Linked DNA regions of Homo sapiens: all the other regions are linked to region 7. Evidence: promoter capture Hi-C in 16 types of primary human blood cells and fetal thymus (Javierre and others, 2016). All regions are on one chromosome and are shown on one strand. Each heading gives the region's core, a stretch centred on a gene start or on the middle of the fragment in contact. The rest is flanking DNA. Distances are from core to core; before and after follow the strand shown.

What was found. Contacts are between HindIII fragments. The CHiCAGO score rates a contact against its expected background, and 5 or more counts as called.
Region 1: a fragment that was not itself captured here is called in contact with the fragment with the promoter of MEIG1 in region 7 in 2 of 17 cell types (naive B cells and monocytes); the score reaches 5.9 in naive B cells.
Region 2: a fragment that was not itself captured here is called in contact with the fragment with the promoter of MEIG1 in region 7 in 14 of 17 cell types (naive B cells, monocytes, activated CD4 T cells and 11 more); the score reaches 14.5 in naive B cells.
Region 3: a contact is called between a fragment that was not itself captured here and the fragment with the promoter of MEIG1 in region 7, in 15 of 17 cell types (naive B cells, monocytes, naive CD8 T cells and 12 more). The highest score is 13.2, in naive B cells.
Region 4: a fragment that was not itself captured here is called in contact with the fragment with the promoter of MEIG1 in region 7 in 8 of 17 cell types (fetal thymus, naive CD4 T cells, neutrophils and 5 more); the score reaches 7.5 in fetal thymus.
Region 5: a contact is called between a fragment that was not itself captured here and the fragment with the promoter of MEIG1 in region 7, in 10 of 17 cell types (monocytes, naive B cells, total CD8 T cells and 7 more). The highest score is 10.6, in monocytes.
Region 6: a fragment that was not itself captured here is called in contact with the fragment with the promoter of MEIG1 in region 7 in 6 of 17 cell types (neutrophils, M0 macrophages, endothelial precursors and 3 more); the score reaches 8.0 in neutrophils.

What each region holds. Positions count from the first base shown.
Region 1 is chr10:14,595,369-14,598,525 of GRCh38, forward strand. All of the region lies in intron 2 of FAM107B (family with sequence similarity 107 member B), which reads right to left. Among named protein-coding and RNA genes, the nearest start is that of MIR1265, 160 kb to the left of the region's middle. RefSeq lists enhancers at 161-661, 662-1,162. The HindIII fragment of the contact is 410 bases long and covers 1,626-2,035 here.
Region 2 is chr10:14,523,513-14,526,364 of GRCh38, forward strand. All of the region lies in intron 3 of FAM107B (family with sequence similarity 107 member B), which reads right to left. Among named protein-coding and RNA genes, the nearest start is that of MIR1265, 88 kb to the left of the region's middle. The HindIII fragment of the contact is 9,482 bases long and covers 1-2,852 here.
Region 3 is chr10:14,505,634-14,508,597 of GRCh38, forward strand. No RefSeq gene overlaps it. Among named protein-coding and RNA genes, the nearest start is that of MIR1265, 71 kb to the left of the region's middle. RefSeq lists enhancers at 1,022-2,293, 1,539-1,598. The HindIII fragment of the contact is 2,781 bases long and covers 232-2,964 here.
Region 4 is chr10:14,567,162-14,570,323 of GRCh38, forward strand. All of the region lies in intron 2 of FAM107B (family with sequence similarity 107 member B), which reads right to left. Among named protein-coding and RNA genes, the nearest start is that of MIR1265, 130 kb to the left of the region's middle. The HindIII fragment of the contact is 2,251 bases long and covers 621-2,871 here.
Region 5 is chr10:14,545,284-14,548,298 of GRCh38, forward strand. All of the region lies in intron 2 of FAM107B (family with sequence similarity 107 member B), which reads right to left. Among named protein-coding and RNA genes, the nearest start is that of MIR1265, 110 kb to the left of the region's middle. The HindIII fragment of the contact is 977 bases long and covers 1,268-2,244 here.
Region 6 is chr10:14,487,527-14,490,461 of GRCh38, forward strand. It overlaps LOC124902380 (a long non-coding RNA gene), which reads left to right. Exons shown (of 2, transcript XR_007062062.1): 2 at 180-949. Among named protein-coding and RNA genes, the nearest start is that of MIR1265, 52 kb to the left of the region's middle. The HindIII fragment of the contact is 1,593 bases long and covers 698-2,290 here.
Region 7 is chr10:14,957,820-14,960,677 of GRCh38, forward strand. It overlaps MEIG1 (meiosis/spermiogenesis associated 1), which reads left to right and starts at 1,569. Exons shown (of 3, transcript NM_001080836.3): 1 at 1,569-1,738. RefSeq lists a silencer at 1,792-1,841. The HindIII fragment of the contact is 3,683 bases long and covers 1-2,543 here.

The DNA of each region.
Region 1 (3,157 bases), core at 581-3,080, 360 kb before region 7:
GGCATAGATCAGACTTGGATCCTAATTCTGGCTCAGCTTCTTCCTAGGGCAACCTTTTTTTTTTTTTTTTTTTTTGAGAGGGAGTCTTGCTCTGTCACCCAGGCTGGAGTACAGTGGTTCGAGCTCAGCTCACTGCAACCTCCGCCTCCTGAGTTCGAGCGATTCTCCTGCATCAGCCTCCCAAGTAGCTGGGACCACAGGCGTGCACCACCACGCCTGGCTAATTTTTATAATTTTAGTAGAGACAGGTTTCACCTTGTTGGCCAGGTCCTAGGGCAAACTTTTTACTTCTCTCCCCCTTGGTCTCCACATCTGTAAAATGGGAATAAAACAACACTAAGTCCAGAGGCTGATGTGAACATCATAAAGCTCATCCTCCACCAGTCTCCCCATATCAATCAATGGCACCATCTTTCACCCAAAGGCTGAGGCCAAAAGAGCAGGTGTCACCCACAATGCCTTTCTCTCTTGTATCAACTCCAATCCATCTCACCAGCGGCACCCCGGCTGGTCTCCCTGCTTCTATTCCTGGCCCTCTGCAGTCCCCGTGGCCCTCCACAACCACAGGGACACACTGACAAAATACAAGGTCCATCTCCTGCACGCCCTGCTCAGAACTCTCCTGTGGCTTCCTCATGAGCCACGTCCTCACCGTGGCCTGCCAGACCTCCTTGGACCCCACTGCACAGCTCTCTTCCTGCCCTGGCCGCTGGCTCCTCCCACACAGGCCCTCTGGCCATTCCTTCCATAGCAAGCTCCTGCCAGCCACTGGGCTGATATTTGCACTTGTTTCTGCGAGGCTCATCCCCTTGCCTCACTCAGATCTCAAATTCTCCTCCTCGGAGGAGCCTCATCCTAATAAAAACACAACCTGCTCTCCCACCAGACTCCAGCCCCCTGAACTGACTTAGTTGTCTTTACAGCACTGACCATGGGAATCACCTCATCCATGTATCTGTTTACCTTCTGTCATGCACTAGCATATAAACTCCATGCAGGCAGGGAGTCTGTCTGTCCCAGCCACCATGCTAGCCCGTGATCCCACTGATCCCCAGAGCCTGGAACGATGACTGGCATATGGCAGCATTCATTAAATAGTTGCTGAATGAATGAAGAAATGTCATAAAGAACTTGACACCATGCCTGGTCACATATAAGATGATTAAAAACTGTTCATTGATGATAATAATAATATTACCAGTATTATTACTGCATTTCACAGGTAAGAATATGCAAACCCCAAGAGGGCAACTGACTCACTCAGGTCAAACTCTACGTCTGATGTCTATGACTTCTATGACACCTCCCATTCCATGGGCACAGAATAACAGAATTCACCCACCGCAGCAGGAACCTGAAAGATGATGTAGCTGATTCTCTTGCACACCCGACGCCCTGCCTCCTCTCACCTTCTAAGAGTCACCTATCCTAAGGGGTGGCCCACATGCTGTTCCAATTCCAGAGCATTCCCTAGAAGGACAAGCAGGCATAAAGAATGCAGGCTTCTATCTCACCCTAAGACAACTCTAAGAAGTAGGTGAGTGTGACTATTTCCATTTTATAGAAGACGACGCTGGGAAACAGAAATAATGACATGCTCAAAAGTCATATACTCATTCATGGCAAGCTTAGGCTTAAAAGTCTGAAAATCTTTCAAGTCTAGGCCTCTCTCTTTCCGATACACTACTTTACCCTGCACATCCACTAAAAAAAGAAAAAATGAAAAAGAACCCTGACCAGTTTTATGTGTTTCAAATAGAATCAAGTTACAAGGGAAAGAATATTATGAAGCCCCCTCTACATACGCATATGCACAAATGGCATTCTCAACTTCCTCCAGGACATGGGAATTTTGATACATCTACATTAAACACTCACAAACCACCTGTGATTATTTATACTGCAAGATTTCATAAGACTGTACAATTTTTGTAAACTCATTAGCATTCACCAGATACCTTAAAACTTGGATAAAGCGTGAGTTTTAACTTTCACAAAGTATGCTCTGTCCCATATATTAATAATGGCACAGAAAAGCTTATACCACAGTAATGACAGCCCTCTTTCCTATACACTTTACTATGACACTTTAGGAACAATGCCAAAACTCTTGTCCAAGAATGGAATAAAACAGGCTATTTCTAATATGAAAACCCAGTTATCTTTAAAACTCTCCTGAAGGCATGAAGAGATACTGAGGAGCAGGTGGGGACAAGGGACAAAGCTCCCATCCTCCAAGTGTCCCTGTGTCCGCATCTTGACATCACTGCCGGCTGCATTACTAACACTCTGAGTTGAGGCCAGGCACGGTGGCTCACACCTGTAATCCCAGCACTTTGGGAGAGGATTGGCAGGCGGATCATTTGAGGTCAGGAGTTCAAGACCAGCCTGGCCAATATGGTGAAACCCCATTTCTACTAAAAATACAAAAGTGAGCCAGGCGTGGTGGCACATGCCTGTAATCCCAGCTACTCAGGAGGCTGAGGCAGGAGAATCGCTTGAACCCAGGAGGTGGAGGTTGCAGTGAGCCGAGATGGCACCACTGCACTCCAGCCTGGGTGACAGAGTGAGACTCTGTCTCAAAAAGACAAAATAATAAAAAAAAACTCCGAGTTGAAATGTCTAAGTCCTTAGCCCATTTTTTAGTTGGGTTCTTCATTTTTTTACTGTTGATTTGCGGAAATCCCTTAAACTTCTCAGATATTAACCCCTTATTGGATATGTAGTTTGCCAACATTTTTCCCCATTCCACAGGTTGCCTTTTCACTCCGTTGACTGTTTCCTTTGCTGTGCAGAAGCTTTTTAGTTCGATGCAATCTGGTTTAGTTTTGGGTTTGTTGACTGTGCTTTTAGCGTGGCAGCCGCGTAATTACTGCCAAGACCAGTGTCCTGAACCTCTTCCCCTATGTTTTCTTCTAGGAGTTTTGTGGAACCAGCTTAACCATCAAGGACAGATGAATGGGTAAACACATGTGGTAATATACATACAGTGGAATACCAGGCAGCCTTAGAAAAGAAGCAGTTCCGCCACAAGCACGAGCATGCATGAACCTGGAGGACCAAGTGAAAGAAGCCAGGCACAGAAGGACAAATACCATGTGACTCCTCTTAGATGAAGCATCTAAGTAGCTAAACTCATAGACTTGAAGAGTGGAAT
Region 2 (2,852 bases), core at 124-2,623, 430 kb before region 7:
CCCACACACCTCCTGGTCCGGCTGCTGATGACTGCTAATCTGTAGACAAGGGACAGGGTTGTTCTCTAAACGACTCCTATCAACTACCGTGACTAACCAACTAGGAGTCATCTGAGCAACTGTTAAATAACAATTTCCAATATATGTGCTCCGGCCAGAGAAATTCAACAGCACACTCACCTTGATCCCTTTAAAGTCCACACAATCACATCTGTAAACCAATCCTCAATTGCATACTTCCTCATTCATCTAGAATTTCTAAAAATTCTGGCATCTCTCCTATCTAGATGTTTTTAAAAATCACAAAAACTTAATTCAAAGTTGTTGTTTAGAGTAAAAATCGGTATATTCCATCTTTTTTTTTTTTTTTTTCTGAGACAGGCTCTCTCTGTTGCCCGGGCTGGAGTGCAGCGGCATGATCTCAGCTCACTGAAACCTCTGCCTCCTGGGCCCCAGCGATCCTCCCACCTCAGCCTCCTGAGTAGCTGGGACCACAGGCACATGCCACCACGCCCAGCTCTATTTTTTTTTTTTTTTTTCGTTTTTGAGATACAGTTTTCCTCTTGTTGCCCAGGATGGAGTGCAATGGCACAATCTCGGCTCACTGCAACTTCCTCCTCCCAGGTTCAAGCGATTCTCCTCCCTCAGCCTCCCGAGGAGCTGGGATTACAGGTGCCCGCAACCACGACCGGATAATTTTTTGTATTTTTAGTAGAGACGGGGTTTCACCATGTTGGCCAGGCTGGTCTCGAACTCCTGAGCTCAAGCCGTCTACCTGCCTTGGCCTCCCAAAGTGGTGGGATTATAGGCATCAGCAACCACACCCAGCTAGTATAGTCCATCTTTAATGACAGAGGACACACAGTCAAAATAATATATGTCTCCAATTTCCCAATTTTCATTAGCAGAACTTTCCGTTAAAAAAAATTTGGCCAAATTTCCAGGGAAACAAAAGAGGCAGGTGACTTTTGTGATTTAATTATGGTTTATTTCACAGTTATCAAAACTAAATAAACAACAGGATAAAAAATATGCACAGATTAAATCTTTAATCAGCACAATATAAGTTGCTTAAGAGTACTCTGTTCAAAATAAAGGTGTTATTAACCACAGGAAAAGCTGTTTTTAAGTAATCTGAATAAAGTTTTACTCAGTTTCATGACTATCAAAAAGTCTTGATATAACACTACAGACAGAATTAAGGGGTTTAAATTTTAGGATTAAGAATTTAGCTATCTGAATAATTTAAATTTCAAACATTTTTCTTTCCCTACATTTCACTGGCAAAATTAACTTCAACTATTATTCAATTCTCCTGGATTATGCAAAAGCTGCTGAAGATTTGATGTATGACACATTTGGCTGACACTCTATTGCAACCTATGAATGGGTTTAACTATTACACAGTATTCATTTTCCTTTCAAAGATTTTACACAATAGTGACAGTAAGATAAAATATGTAGTAACAAAAAATTCAGGAAAATGGTGCTTATATGATAAATATTCTCTACTTACAGCAGTCAAGAAGTCATATAAATTTAGTTAATATTTTACCACAGTGGATTACTTAACTTTCTGTGCTGAATGCAAAAAGTCAAGCATTGCCCATGTAAGTCTCTAAGTCTAAATGGAACAGAGATAGTGTCGACAGACAGAAATTAGTTTCTCCAAATGTCATAATTAACTACAATACCATCCCTTGCACAAGAATAGTTGGTTCTCTTTAATCAATTCTGACATATACAGCTAACAAGTACTTTCAACCCCTTTATGACAGTATCACCCACGAGTAACAGTAATTCCCAAGTCGGCTTCTCGGTCAGGTAGCTACCTGTGACTACTGAAGCGGGCAAAGCCAATTTAAAAAACTATAAAATTAATAAGTGCTCTTTGCAGAAAAAGAAAAGTAATATACCCATGTGTTAAATAAAAAGCAAAAGCACATCCAAACCCTCTCCATTAAACGAATCGAGGAGCACCACTCCATCGCAAATGTTCTATGTGAACAGTGGCCCCAAAATTATGCAAAGTAGAGACCCTGTACCCATCAACCCCTACCTATTCCTGCATCCAGAGATAACTCTTACCAACAGTTGGGTCTATGTTCCTCCATACTTTCTATACCCATATAAACATGCCACAATTCTGCCACATCCCTACTGACAGACATCTATTTGGTTTCCAACTGTTCACTATTAAAAACAATGAGGCTCTGAGCCTCTGTGGACATTTATAGCTGCACACTTCTACAAGTATTTCTGTTGGCTAGATTCATAGAAGCGGAGTTGCTGGCTAAGCATCTGCACATCGCATATTTTGATGAGTACTGCCAAAGTGCCCTACAAAAAGGCTGCAATGATTTATATTCCCACCCCCAGAGTATGAAACATACAGACAACTTTGAAAGGTACATTTCACATAAACCACTAAATACATTCAAGGGCAGACGGGGCGAGTCCCCATTCATTCCACATCTACCTGAACTCTGTGTACCTATATATTAATAAGTGAAGTCATTTCATTACCTGGGACAGCATTCATCCAGAGGAAAGGTCTGGGGCTCAGACCGTCACAGAACAATGCCTACTCACTTAGTCAAACATCTCCCGGCCTAATTATTTTTCTTAGGGTACAGGGAAAATTTGATTTGAATTTAGCCCTTGTTCTTTTTTTCCGGGGGGACAGAGTCTCGCTCTATTGCCCATGCTGGAGTGCAGTGGCATGACCTCGGCTCACTGCAACCTCCGCTTCCTGGGTTCAAGCTATTCTCCTGCCTCAGCCTCCCAAGTAGCTGGGACTACAGGCGCGTGCCACCACGCCCAGCTAATTTTTTTGTATTTTTAGTAGAGAT
Region 3 (2,964 bases), core at 372-2,871, 450 kb before region 7:
TCTGGGAAGTTCACTTATTGATTCAACAAATATGTGTTGAGTGCCTACTGTATGCCAAGCCCTAAATGGAGAATACTGCAGTGAACAAGGCAGATATTATACCCAACTTCGTAGCTCATATACATAAGAGAGACATTAAGTAATTACACAAGGATTAATTTACCTAATGTTGCAAAGAAGAAGTAAAACTGTGTTATGAGATTGATTTGACCTGCTCTGCACAGTTCAGAAAGCTTCCCTAAGGAAGTTGGGATCTAAGGGTCCAACATGAGTTAACTAAGCACAAAGGGGAGAATGAGAACTTTGAGGAAAGGCAGTTGGTAGGTGGGAAAGCCCTGGAGCAGAGAGGAGGCTGGTAAGTCTGGAACAAGGAGAACAAAGGCAGAGGTACAAGAGGAGTTGGCGATGCAAGCAGGGGCCAGAGCATGATGGGCCTGGAGGCCATGTTAAGGATTTTGGTCTTTGCCCTAAAATCAATGGGAAGTCTTCAAGCAAGGGAGGAACACAGTCAGATTTGCCTTTGCTAAAGATCATTTGGACTTCTTTGGAGAGCACAAAGCAGACTGAGGCAAAAGTGACAGGAGGACCCACCAGGAAGCTGCTGTTCTAAAATGGGTAGTGGGATTGCAGAGGAGTGGAGAAATTCACTGGATATTTACAAGGTAGAGTGGAAAGAACTCCATTGGATATGGAGGGTGAGGCTGGGTCAAAGATGACTCCCAAATTTCCAAATTACAGGACTGGATGGAAAGTGGTGCCATTTACGAAGACTGGGACTGTGGATGAGGGCGAAATTTTGGAGGAGAAGGCCTTCAGTTCAGTTACAGTAGTCTACCTTAATATGCGATTTCACTTTACATGGCTTGACTGTTACCCACAGTCAACCACGGTTCGAAAATATTCAATGGAAAATTCCAGAAATAAACAATTCATAAGTTTTTAATCACAGGGCATTCAGAATAGTGTGATGAAATCTCACCCCATCCCACCCAGGATGGGAATCTTCCCTTTGTCCAGGATATCCACGAGGTCTACACTACTGGTCCATTAGTCACTCAGTAGCCATCTTGGTTATCAGATGGAAGAAACATAATATATAAAGGGTTTGGTACTATCCATGGTTTCAGGCACCCAATGAGAGTCTTGGAATTTACCCCCAAGGAGAAGCAGGGACCACTGTACTTAACTTTGGTGACCTTCAGTTCCCTCTCCTCTATAGTAGAGATGACAACAGGGTTCCCCCCATAGGAATATGGTGAGAATTCCATTAGATCCCAAATGTTAAGCACTGAGCATGGTGCCTGGCACATGGAGAGCAGCAATGGCTGGAGACTAATGTTCTGCTCATCAGCCATTAGGTGCAGAGGCACCTGTTTTCACAGCTCCCTGCCCTTCTCTTTGTACCACTCACTACAGTTGTCATTTTACATGCATTTCTGTGATTCTTTGAATAATATTTGTCTCCTCACTCCATTTTAAGCTCCAAAAAGGCAGAGGCTGATATGATTTTGCTCAGCATTGTATTCCCAATGCTGGGCATTGTGATGAAAATGGATAAACACACAGCCTGAGCAGGAAACACACACTTCCCCAGAGCCCCATTCATTCCTGCAACCAGGTACCCGCAGCAGGTGCATGGGGACAGCCAGCCATTTCGTTGTTATTGACTACGCCACAGCAAACCACACAGGTCTTCAGATTTCAATGCTAGGACGCAAATCAAAACTCACCCATAGCCTAACCTCAAGCACCTCAGGAAGTTCTTTGGATATAAACGACAGGTGTTTCCTAGCAACACTGCAAGCAGTTGTGCATCGGGGAGGCAGCAGGCTTATTTGCTGTTCCCACTTCCTGCTCTCCCTCTCCCCAGTGTCCTATTACTGCTACTCACAAAAAACCTGGCTTTTCAAACTGTTCAGTCATATTTTTTTGAAGAACAGTCTGGGAAGCACAGAGGAAGATCAAGAAGAAATAAAATTTACATTTAATTTAAAACATCATTTGAACCATTAATTTCCACGGCTTCCCTCGGAGAACATTAATACGAACATCTATCTAACAATAAAACCATTTGATTTAGTGTGTGTATTTTCTTTTCTTAATTTGCTCCTATAGTTCTTATCTTCGAAGTATTCATGTGGCATTTTATTTCATGTCTTATTATTTATTACATCTTATGCAATGTCTCATCTCTGAACAAGATTATAAACACCTCCAGTGCTGGAACTAGCTCCTAGCGAGATATCTTGTCAACATATTCAGTAAGCACGTGTGCCTAATTGATCTGACCGCTTATCTCTGAGAAACACTGAAATCACTGAGGAAGGAAAAGGGAATGGAAAGAAAGAGAGCAAACTCCAGCAAGTTCCCCTAGAGAGCAAAGCACCAACTCACTGAATTAAAGCCACATTGCAGCAGCTAGAATATTCCCTTCATGCATGTGACTTTGCACAGTGAATTTTTCTTCGTTGAGCTTATAGGCTGGCTATCAGCTCTAATGGAGGATCCTCCAAACCCTGATTCTGGTTCACAGCCTGTTGTGTAAGGTATTTCCCTCCTGGGTGGCATTTTTTTTTTTCTTTTTTGAGACAGAGTCCTGCTCTGTCACCAAGGCTGGAGTGCAGTAGCGCAATCTCAGCTCACTGCAATCTCTGCCGCCCAGGTTCAAGCGATTCTCCTGCCTCAGCCTCCAGAAGTAGCTGGGATTACAGGCACGCACCATCACACCCTGCTAATTTTTGTATTTTTAGCAGAGATGGGGTTTCCCCATGTTGGCCAGGCTGGTCTTGAACTCCTGACCTCAAGTGTTCTGCCCGCCTCAGCCTCCCAAAGTGCTGGGATTACAGGCGTTGAGTCACTGTGCCCAGCCTCACAGTAAATGTTTTTAATCATGCTACTTTCACTGTTTGTTGGCACCTGGCTAACACAGGTGCCATTATTTCCTGGAACCTCTTAAATGAGTAA
Region 4 (3,162 bases), core at 496-2,995, 390 kb before region 7:
AAATAAATAAATAAAAATAAATAAATTGGAGGTGGGAGAGAATGGTGGTGCAGAAATGGATTTCTAGAGAATAAATAAGATTCCTCTTTCACTATAAACAGAAAAATGAGAAAAGTACAGGCCCAAGAGCAGGCGGATTTGCAAAGGGGCAGTGGGAAGGTCAGAGAATGGCCTTCGCACGACTGTCCCGTGAGCTGTGGAAAGATAATCTGCCGAGAGTGAAATGAGAGGAGGAGGGATGGGCTCAGTATGAACCTAGAGATTTAAGAAGTGTGGAGGAGGTTGGAAAAGTCATTATGGAGAGGAAGAGGGTTGATGAGGAAAATTTGATTTCCAGGCAGTGTTGAGGCCCTGGTGAGGCAGAGATCAGGATCATAGAGAGGCAACTGTGTAACTTTCTCTGGCAGAACTCAGAAGTCCAGGGACAGGCATGGGTGGGCCGCCCAATCCCCCAGGAGAGTGAAGTAAGGGATTCCAGTGCGTTGACAAGCGCATCGCTGAAATGTTGGAATTCAAAAGCAGAGGCAAAGTCCAGCAGGAGCAGAGGGGTTGGAAAGGGACCTGGAATGGGAAAAATCTGATGTTCTTATTGTAATCTGTCAGCTGAGCTGAAGGACAGAAGCTTCTGGTGAGTAGGATCTCTGGATTTCAGCTCAGAAGCGGTTCCTGGTATTAACAGTGTCTTTTTAGGGTAACCTCCTCCTCCTAGTTTGAGCACTGAAAGTCCTGCGTCCTGTGAAACTCCTTAGTCCTCAGACTGAACATCCCCATCCCAAAAAGCTCCTGCTGCCACTCCAGTCTCAGGCAAACCAGGCTGCTGGTCACTCAGCTCCGGCTGCCATGGAGTCCCCGGTGAGCTTTGACAAATACTGACCCCTGCAGCAGATGACTGTGAGCCAGGGGCCAAAACTTTCAAGGAACGAATGAGGAGCTACGACCACGAAATGCTAGCACTGAGGGTAGAGGACAGAATACGACTGAGACAAGGCTCAAAGCAGCAGCGAGGGGAAGGGTCATGACCCAAAAGTGGCCATGAGGGCAGGAACCTAAGCCCTGCCTCCAGATCCCAAGGCACATACAGGGTGGGAGAAGGTGCACTCCCATTCCCAAGGGAGCCAAGGCAGCACTGAACTCGGAGAGTGGCTCTCGGTTAGACCAGGAGGTGAAGATACTGGGGGAGGAGGAGGCTGGCTGATGATCCCAGGGTTAGACCAGGAGGTGAAGATACTGGAGGAGAAGGCTGGCTGATGATCCCAGGGTTAGACGAGGAGGTGAAGATACTCAGGTAAGAGGAGGCTGGCTGATGATCCCAGGGTTAGACCAGGAGGTGAAGATACTCAGGTAAGAGGAGGCTGGCTGATGATCTCAGGGTTAGACCAGGAGGTGAAGATACTCAGGTAAGAGGAGGCTGGCTGATGATCTCAGGGTTAGACCAGGAGGTGAAGATACTCAGGTAGGAGGAGGGTGGCTGATCTCTGGGTTAGACCAGGAGGTGAAGATACTCGGGTAGGAGAAGGGTGGCTGATCTCTGGGTTAGACCAGGAGGTGAAGATACTGGGGAAGGAGGCAGCATGGGAGCTGGCTGATCCCAAGGCAGGAGCACAGCACCTGGTGGAAGAGGCTGGAGGGGAAGGGAGAGAGGGTGGGGTGGAAGGGGGAGGCAAAGAGCAGTCCCAGGAACCTGGAAGGAGGGGGAGAGACAGGGCATGAAGGTGGGATCCTAAATCCCAGAATCGTCGGCAACATAATAAATGGCAACACCAGGAGAGCTGGCATCTGACGATGTCTGTGGGACACAGTGCATAGGTAGATTTTAACACACTGAGATTGCTATTTGGTATAATGACATGTTTATCCTGAAGAAATGAAGTTAGGAATTTTCTGAGCTACAGAATGAATTTTTTGGTTCTCATCGAAAGGTCTGTTGCTCTTGGAACTCAATTCTCAAAGGTCTGTTTCACAAATAATCATCCTCGTTCTGATGTTTATTCAAATCTTTGCCCACCCTCGAGTCTCCTTAAATTCCTCATATTCCACAAATGATGTGTGTTATCTGAATCCAGAAAACCCTCATGGGTTTGCAGATATAACTGCCAACAACTGATATAGAAATAGAGAGTGTAGAAAATATTTCTTGACAATAAAAGTCAGAAGGAAGATTCGAGTTATCCTATCCCCATGAAAGGAAGGGGAGGGTACATGTTGTGTTGTGGTGAGCTGCAGTTTGCATTGTGCACATATGTGTGTGTGTGTGCATGCATGCATGCACACATGTGTTACGTTAAGATCATAACATGTGGTGATCTAAGTCCTCCGGAAGCTAGACAGACTCAACATATTGTTCCAGCAAAAACTTTAGCATCATTTAGAAAAAAATATAGCAGAAAAAAATTCCTCAACTCAAGAACAACACAGGTACTTCTGTTCAGTGTAACCTTCCTCTCAAGTTTTGGGAAAGATGGAAATAGGCCAGGACTGGAGGGGTGGAGCCCTCACACAGTCAGCTCACAGGTCAGCAGAAGTGACAGGTACTCCAGACTTAAGACCTTGAGGGAAACCAAGGTTCCTCTGTCTCTTCTCTGAAATAATCAAGTTCTTTCTTCCCTTCTCCCTCCTCAATGCAAGGCCGTGCTTCCCCAAACAAGATCTGGGACTCTCGCGCCTACTGAGATGGACAGAGAGCTTCACAGGTGTCAACAGTTTCAAGAACCTTGGCCAGCCTCAGCCAACAGCCAACCAGGCAGGCTGGGCGAGCCCAGAGGTTCCCGGAAACCAGAAACTAGGGCAGAAACACCCAGCAACTCAGTCGCTTTTCTAAAACAGAGCTACCAATAAATATATAAATCACTGTCATGAGCCATAGAAAGGGAAAGCTTTTATAAATTAAAGCATCCAAATATTAAGCCAATATTACTTAGGATTGCATTTATCATTGCTACAGAAAAAAACTGTATGTAAATAAATGTGAATGCATACAAGGTAATTGAGTGTCCTATGTTAATATAAGGGTAGCCCATATTTTTTCTGAAATGAAACGACATTGAAAACGTACCTACCAAAAAAATGTGGTGGGTGTGTGTGTGTGTGTGTGTGTGTGTGTGTGTGTGTGATGTTTATCTAGGTCAACATTAGATTTTTACCCAATATCTGTGTACACCAAGG
Region 5 (3,015 bases), core at 506-3,005, 410 kb before region 7:
TCTTTCTGCTAAATTAATGGCAGGATGCATCCCCCTGTTGTCTGATCACCTTCATAGTGGTTTAGCGCTTCTGTTACAAAGCTATTGATCTGGGGGCTGGGGGTGTCCTGGGCTCTATCACTAACATCCCCATTAATATATCTCTTGATGAATACCTGGTTGACATCTTTGAAGGCTAAAAAAAGATATTTAGATCTAAGTGAACATTAAATACCAGCACACATAAGCAAAAACTTGAATGCCATCAGCAATGACATGCAGCAGATACTGACTAAACACACAAGGCACCTGTTGCCTGCTAGAGGGGAGAGGCCATGTGGCAATCCCATGCACAGCTTCCAAACCACCTGGCCACCATCTTTGAAATTATACAAGTTTTGATTGACTTCTTTTCCTTTTTTGGTTTTTGCATGATTTCAAAATTTGCATGTAACAGAATCCTTATTTATATTATGTTATAGTCACAAAATTAAAATTGGTAAAATAAAGTTATCACACTTAATTCCTAAATTGCAAGTTCCTGAATAAAGAGACCTCCCTTGGAATTTTTCTCCTATGTTATTTTCTGAGGAGAAAACACCTCGGTCATTCATCTCAGGAAACTACAAAGAGGATGGACTGAGAAGATGGTTGATTTCGGCCTAATCATTCCTGAGAGGAAGGAAAATACACAGACCACGAAAAGCTTCCTGCTGGGCTAGCTTTCAAAGCCCTCAAACATTCCTGTCTTCAAGAGCTGACTAATAATTCCGTAATATTTATGACCTGGCCCAACTGGCCAAACAAACTAATACTTTCAAAAGAAGAGACTATCTTCAAACAGACTTAATGACAGAAACTTTAGAAGGAACACAGAGACCAGGTGTTCAACTTCCTCATTATGACAGATGAGGAAACTGAGGCCCAGAGAGATGAAATGACTAAGTTAAGAGAGTGGCAAAGACATTCTGGACCACACAGTGGCAAAGCTCGGACTAGGACCAAGATTGGAGTCTGGTCCACTCTTCACTACCCAACACTGCCTCTCACTTCTGACTGCTTTGCAAATTTTCTAAATTGACTGTCCACATTTTCTACTGATCTGTGGGTGTTTTGGCACCGTGAGTAACACCACCATTAACATTACCTCTGGATCAGTAACTGGATGGCATCTTTGAAGACTAATATGTTTCAACTGTAAGTACACTTTAATAACAGCTCGACAGTTTTATCTGCTTCTATAGCTGATCACGTTTTAAGATAGTACAGTCGTCATGATGATTTTTAAAGCTTCTCAAGCTAGGCGAAAACTACCCATCTGCCTTTTTTAAAATTTGCATTATTACCATTGAGCAGCTACAATGTTTAAAAACCAGTGACTGCTCAGACACGGTTATTTAGACATCCTCTAAGTCCCTACTTCCCACTGCATCTTGCTCCATTAAAACCTATTCCTCAAGCATCAGCATTCAGAATGAAATTAAGTAAGTTGGTGAACAAATTAAATTCAACCCTACCGACCTTCAAAGTAAAGACCAGTCTAATTGACAACCTGACCCCCATATTCCCATCAGAACATAATGAATGCTCAAAAACGGACACAGATGGGCCCACATTACTACCACAAAAATAACCAGATGCCCCCTTTTCTCACCAACATGTATGATTGCAAATTCTTTACTGCATGGCCACTCTAACTCTACTTTAATCTCCTACCTCCTAGATAAAAGTTGTTGGATACCCAATCACTGAATTGTTTCTGCCTCCTGGCCACATCCAACCCAGATCTGGTCCCATTTCCCTAATTCCACCTTCAAATCACCCAGTCCAACAACAACCCCAAGTCTGCCTTTCCAAAATAGTCCCAGGGTTCTTCTGGGTACACTGGCCCCGGCAGAAGCAAGCTAAACGAAGCCAACTTCTGTATAACTACACGTTGTGTTCCTGGTGGGTTTTGGCTGATGAGATTCGACACTGTTGTCTGAAGTCACTAGTAACGTATGGCAGAGTAGAAAGAACCTTAAATAAAAGGTCCACAAACCTAAATCCTGACTTCACTTCTCTGGGTTTGTTTCCTTACTGGTAAAATGACAGCCAGTCATTCTATCATTTTGTAAGTTTTTCATCTCAAATCTCCGTATATTGGCCAAATTGTGGGTCAAACAGGTTTGTTTCTACAGAAGAATATGTTCTAACTTCCAACCACTCACTCACTACAGGTTGAGCATCCCTTATCCGAAACACCAGAAGTGTTTCAGATTTCAAAGCTTTTCCAATTTTAGCATATTTGGAATATTTCTGAGTATCTACACTCTGAAATGCTCCGGTGAGCATTTCCTTTAAGCAGCATGTCAGTGCTCAAAAAATTTTGAATTTTAGAGCATTTCAGATTTCAGATTTGGGATGTTCAGCCTGTATTTCACTTTTGAAATACTGAATTAGTTAAGGGTTTGTCTGGAAAACTTCATTTTTCACTCTTAAAAAGAAAAAAGAGACCTTAATGCCAGAAACAACGGTAACAATGATGTGTTTTTTCTGTAGGCTTAAAATGTTCCATAATTAAAAGAATTTAAGTTGGCTCTTATTTGATTTCTGCTTCCGCAATGAAAACTGAGCGTGAGGACAGGGACACATCTCTGTCTGGGTCTTTGGAGGATTGTCTGTCTCTAACCAAACCCTAGAGAACAGCTATTTCCATGGCCCCGGCCCTTTTAATTAAAGTCTGTTTTCCCACTTCCCTCTCTTCAGACCACCTGGTGGGCTTTCTGTGAACAACCAATACGCAGGCTTCGCAGGGAGGACACCAAAAACAAGAAAGGAGTAAAGCAACAGCTGTCAGCAAGACCAGGACCCACAGCGCTCGCTGGTTGAGTTAACCTGGTTGGCTGAACCAGTTACTATGTCTCCTACGGGGGAGCACAGGGTGGGCCTGAAGATCGAGAGGGGAGCAAGACGTGGTCCAGGAGCTCCCTGCCTGGAGGAGAAGAGAGCAGACGCGACAGACGCACCCGAGGGTCAACAACTGGGAACACGGAC
Region 6 (2,935 bases), core at 244-2,743, 470 kb before region 7:
GTAGTAAGACATGACAAAGCTTCACCCTCTTGCGGGTATCTTCTTTTCTTACAGTGTCAAAACATGACTGGTTGTTTATAAGGAAACACGGAATTGTGGTCACTCTCCCAAAGATGAATACTTGCTTTTGGGTTTCCATGCCTCTCCATGTACACAATAACCTTTTGTTTCAATTTCAGATCATCGTGGAATCTTTTTGAAGACATTTGAATGGCAAAATAAATCCTTTACGCATAGTACTGGCAAAGAGCCCAGCTGAGCTGAAGCAGGAACACTATGAGCAGCTTTTCTCAGGTTTGCAACTTCGGGGGAAATGGCAATTCCTTAAAGGCAGCTGCCCGGCCAGCAGCAATGATAAGATGCCAGCGATTATAGAATGCACCCCAGTTTCAAAGTTGCTAATGTGAAACATCATGCTTCTAAGAATCAACAAAATATAGTAATGTACTCACTTTGTCTATTATCTAGCTGCCTCTACTAGTTAGCAAGCTCTGTGATGATGACAGTAAACTTGGTGTATCTACTGATACCTCACCAGTGCCTATAACAGGACTTGGCCCATAGTACCGAGAACTGGAGAATGACCACAGTTCCATGTTTTCTTATAAACAACTAGTCAAGTTTTGACACTGTAAGAAAACAAGAGACCTCCAATCAAGTGAATGGACCCGCTTCTGGCTAAGGGAATCTCAGAAAAAGCTTAAAAACGAAGTTCCTGGCCATGACGGAAGAGGAGGTCAGACACATCTTGTCATACCCCTTCCCTTTTGTGGTTTAGCTACAACAACTGACCAGCATTCATGTTAAAATAGAAATCATCAGACTGATGGGATACGGATGCTTTGTGGCCATAAGATACCAAATTATGAACAGGACCTAAAGCCTTGCCAGGCAAGGGTTAAGCCACACACCCTACACTTTAAAAGAATAAACTATGTTCTAACGGCCACAAGGTTTCATTTTTCTCTAGCAGCTAAACAAACACTGGCCTTGACATAAGCAATATGAAAACAATTGCAGCCAGGTGCAGTGGCTCACACCTGTAATCCCAGCACTTTGGGAGGCAGAGGCGGGCAGATCGCCTGAGGTCAGGAGCTCGAGACCAGCCTGGTCAACATGGCAAAACCCCGTCTCTACTAAAAATACAAAAATTAGCCAGGCGTGGTGGCGGGCACCTGTAATCCCAGCTACCCAGGAGGCTGAGGCAGGAGAGTCGCTGGAACCCAGGAGGCAGAGGCTGCAGTGAGCCAAGATCGCGCCACTGCACTCCTGCCTGGGCAACAAGAGCGAGACTCCATCTAAAAAAAAAAAAATTTGCAGCTCGTGTACTTCCAGATGCTGATTAACTGACCCCCATCCCACCAGCCATCACTACAGCTTTGATTGGAGAAGAGACTGATTTCAGTAACTTTGTCCTGATCAGAGGCTGCTGACCGTAGACTGGTTGTGGCCAGTTTACAGAGGCTGTGCACTCAGTGCCAGAGGGAAGCTAGGGAGGAGGGAAGGAAGGAAGGAAAGAAGGGAGGGAGGGAGGGAGGGAGGGAAAGGTTTACTACCTATACACAGTAAGAAGTCCACTCACTGATGCAATTGGATCTTGGTGTCCCTGCTTCACCTTTTGATGTATAGGGTCTAACTTGAATACACTTAAATGTTAAGTCTCTGCCCCAAAGTGAACATGGAATACATGTAACGTGCATGTTTGCTTATCATGCATGTGCCCTCACTTTGTGATAATGCTTAGCTTTTCCTGTAATCTGTAGACCAACCCATTCAACATAAATTCCTGTTTCATTTCCTCCAAGTGCTTGCCTTGGGGTTGATAATATTATTTTTCAGTCTTATACGCTATTTCCACTGAATAGCATATTAGGCTGTGCTTCCCAGCCAGTCAAGATGACCACCTTGCAGGCTATAACCCTTTATAATAAATAAGATCTCCTTTCCAAATGTATAGATTGGGTGATTTTTAAGTTGACAGTATGCAATCGACTGTTTTTTAAGTGAATGCACAGATGAGACAGGATTTCACACCTGCCCTGTATAGCTGGAAAGCCAGGATCTCCCACTGCCTCTGTGGCACATGGCATTTCTTTCCAGATTGGAAGGCAATTGCATGTCATAGTCACTCTGCTTTGCTCCCTGACCCTTTGGCTGGCTGAAAGCCTCTTTTCCAGTAAAAGAGGGAACAGTGGCCTGACACATGTCATCCAAAAGATGATTGATGATTTTCTAGGCTGCTATGGGGTTTTTAGCAAATTCTTGTAGAATCAAGTGTGAAGGCCACAGAAGCTTCAGCCACAACACTCTTGTCTTTATAAATCAAAACAAGAGCAGAAGAAAGAATTAAAGGACAAAGGAAAAGGAAAGAGAAGGAGGGAAGGAAGGAAGGAAGGAAGGAGGGAAGGAGGGAGGGAGGGAGGGAAGGAAGGAAAAGGAAAGGAAAGGAAGAGGAAGGGAAGGAGGGAGGGAAGGAAAGGAAGGAAAGAAAGGAAAAGAAAGGAAAGGAAAGAAGAGTTACTACCTATACACAGTAAGAAGTACACTTGCTGATGCAATTGGATCTTGGTTTGATGGGTTCATGAGGAGGCAAAGATGTTAATTCCCGGGGCACTTGGATGTTTCAGAAGCCAAGGAAGTTCTCAAGCAACCCAGGAAGAGCTGCAACCCTCATCAGGAAAAATTATCCAGGCTCTCAACCTCCTGGGCTTCCGAGGCATATATCTGTGCCTGCCTGTCCCCAAATGGTATGCCTGGAGTGTGGGAAGACGGGCTTCAGAATTATTCAATTTAATAAACAGCTAAACAAAAAGGAAAAGGGAAAAAATATTTCTCACTGGCTGCACATTGCTTTAAATCCTTGTTCTTGTGGTTTATATTTTATGGAAATCTGTGTTTGGGAAAACACAAGGAGTGTCCTCCATGAACAGATACT
Region 7 (2,858 bases), core at 319-2,818:
GTATTTTTAGTAGAGAAAGGGTTTCACCATATTGGCCAGGCTGGTCTCGAACTCCTGACCTCGTGATCTGCCCACCTCAGCCTCCCAAAGTGCTGGGATTACAGGTGTGAGCCACCGCGCCCGGCCTTGACTTAGGTTTTAAACAGATTGCATTGACTGTTGTGTTGACAACAGACTACAGAGGGGGCATAGAGAGCTGTTGGGAACGGTTGTAATTACCAGAAAAAAGAAAAATTATGATGGCTTGAGTAGAAGCTATAAAGTCAGCAGGTTGCATTGATGGATATGGAAAGAGAGGGCTCTAGGCCACATCTACTAAAAGACATGAAGAAGGAGCAGGGTTTTTGTTTTTGTTTTGGCAGGGAGGTGTTTGGGGAGGTTGTTTTGTACAATCAAGTGGATGTTGAATATACATTGATATACAAATCTAAAGTTCAGAGAAAGACCGGGCTGAAGAGAGAAATTTGGGAGTTGTAAGTAAATAGTTTTTTGTTTTTAGTTTTACTAAGTATTGCCTTTGTTTTAGTATGACTCGTTTATTTAGAAGTTTATATAATTTAATTTGTGATATGTCTTGTGTTTTTGTTTTGTTTGGGGCAGGTGCCCGAGGCCCTTGTCATCTTCATTGACTCCAGCTCATGGCTTGTATTTAACAACGAGCTCAGAAAAATTCCTAAAAATTTAATTACTGAGTCTCCAGAGCTCTAATGAGCTGGCTCCAGCACACAATTGCTCCTTTCTTTCATTCAACAATTTGACAAGTCCTGATGGCTCTACATTCAAAACATGTAAATTGGCCGGGCGCGGTGGCTCACGCCTGTAATCCCAGCTCTTTGGGAGGCCGAGGCGGGTGGATGACGAGGTCAGGAGATCGAGATCATCCTGGCTAACACGGTGAAACCCCGTCTCTACTAAAAATACAAAAAATTAGCCAGGCGTGGTGGTGGGTGCCTGTAGTCCCAGCTACTCGGGAGGCTGAGGCAGGAGAATGGCGTGAACCCGGGAGGCGGAGCTTGCAGTGAGCCGAGATAGCACCACTGCACTCCAGCCTGGGCGACGGAGCGAGACTCCGTCTAAAAAAAAACAAAAACAAAAAAACAAAAAACCGTATATCTTGAATCTGATCACTTTTCGCTTAGATAGTACTGTAATATAGTAATAGATAATGCTAGAAAAAATAATTAAAGCTATAGATATCATCTATTGTAGGTTTACTGATTGTCAGGCACTATGGCGACTCTCTGGAATGGTTCATTCCTCGCAAATGAATAGATAGGAGATATCTACTATCAGGAACTACAAACACAGTCTCCGTGCTGTGATCCGCTTTCACAGGGAATTTTGTCTGGGATTCAAGTAGCGGCAAGTAACCCTTTTTCGCCCTCCATCTCTGCTCAGGGGTGAGCCCTGGCAGCGCTCCTACCTGGGACCTACATTGGCTTAGTAAGATGGGCCGGCGCCCACCCCAGCCCTCGCGCATGCGCATAAAAGCCCACTCCCGGGGGCGGGGCCTGAGCTAGCTGGGCGGGGCCTGAAGGAGCCGGGAGCTCCTGCAGCTTCATCGCGTTACTAAGAGACGCGAGGGTCGCGAAGGGCACAACACTTGGCCTCTCGCTGGCCCTGCTCGCGGATCCCGAGTAGAGAACGCAAGCACCCACGCCCGCCTGCAAGCTCCCGGGCGCCCCCGGCCTCTCCTGCTCGGCGGAACGAGGATAACCCAGTAGAGCCGGACCCAGGGGTGGGTGGATGCGTCGCTGGAGGCGAGGGCCCTGCCCGCCAACCCCTGCGCCCCGGCCGTAGCCCCACCCCGGAAGTTCTTGCCCCGCCTTCTCGGCTCCGCAGTTCTCTGCTGTCTCCTGAGGTTTGCCAGGGAGATCCCGTGGTTTTCATGTCTCTTCCGTGATTTTTAGGGAAGAGGGTCACTATTTGGCCCTTCCAGAATCTCAGGGTCCGGTTCTCCCGGAAGTTTCCGGGCCGCCCCGGACCCCATTGGCTTTAGGGGCCGCGTCTCCGAGGGCTCCGATTTGGGCCCTAGATTTTGGAATACTGTGTTTTGTCCGTCCCAGCCTTCACCAGGCGGATTTCATCTCCCACACAGTTAGTGATTTATGGCAGAAAGGAAGCTGGAGGGATGGGGACTGCAGGTTAGCTGTGAGGGCCGGAAGGGAGCGGTTTTGTGCTGCACACAGGCAGGTCAGCACTCCCAGAGCAGGGACCGCCGGGCGTGCTTTCGGAACCGCTTTTGTCTTTCAAATGAACGCCCAGCGACAGCAGACGGGAGTTCCAGGACCTTAGAGACCGGCTAATGCTTCTCTTTAAGTTAGGAAACAGGCGCAGGCGTGTTCATGGCCTTGCCTAAGGTTACGTGCTGGTTACAGGGCTCCTCCTGCTGCCTCTTAAGAACAGAAATAATCTAATAGGAGGAATAAAAGGGACTATTAGGGAGGCTAATGCTCTTGAAGTTTTAATACTACTAAAAGTAAAAGCGCTTTTCAGAGTGAAAGGGAAGTGAAAAGGGAATTTGGGTGGCTGGCTACATCAGAAGCTTCTGTTCCAACTTTAGATTGTCAGGGAGTTGAGATGGTGTTTTTTGTTTTTATTTTTGTTTTAGTTTTTTGAGACGGAGTCTCGCTCTGTAGCCCAGGCTGGAGTGCAGTGGCGGGATCTCGGCTCACTGCAAGCTCCGCCTCCCGGGTTCACGCCATTCTCCTGCCTCAGCCTCCCGAGTAGCTGGGACCACAGGTGCCCGCCACGATGCCCGGCTAATTTTTTGTATTTTTAGTAGAGACGGGGTTTCACTTTGTTGGCCAGGATGGTCTCGATCTCCTGACCTCGTGATCCACCCGCCTCGGTCTCCC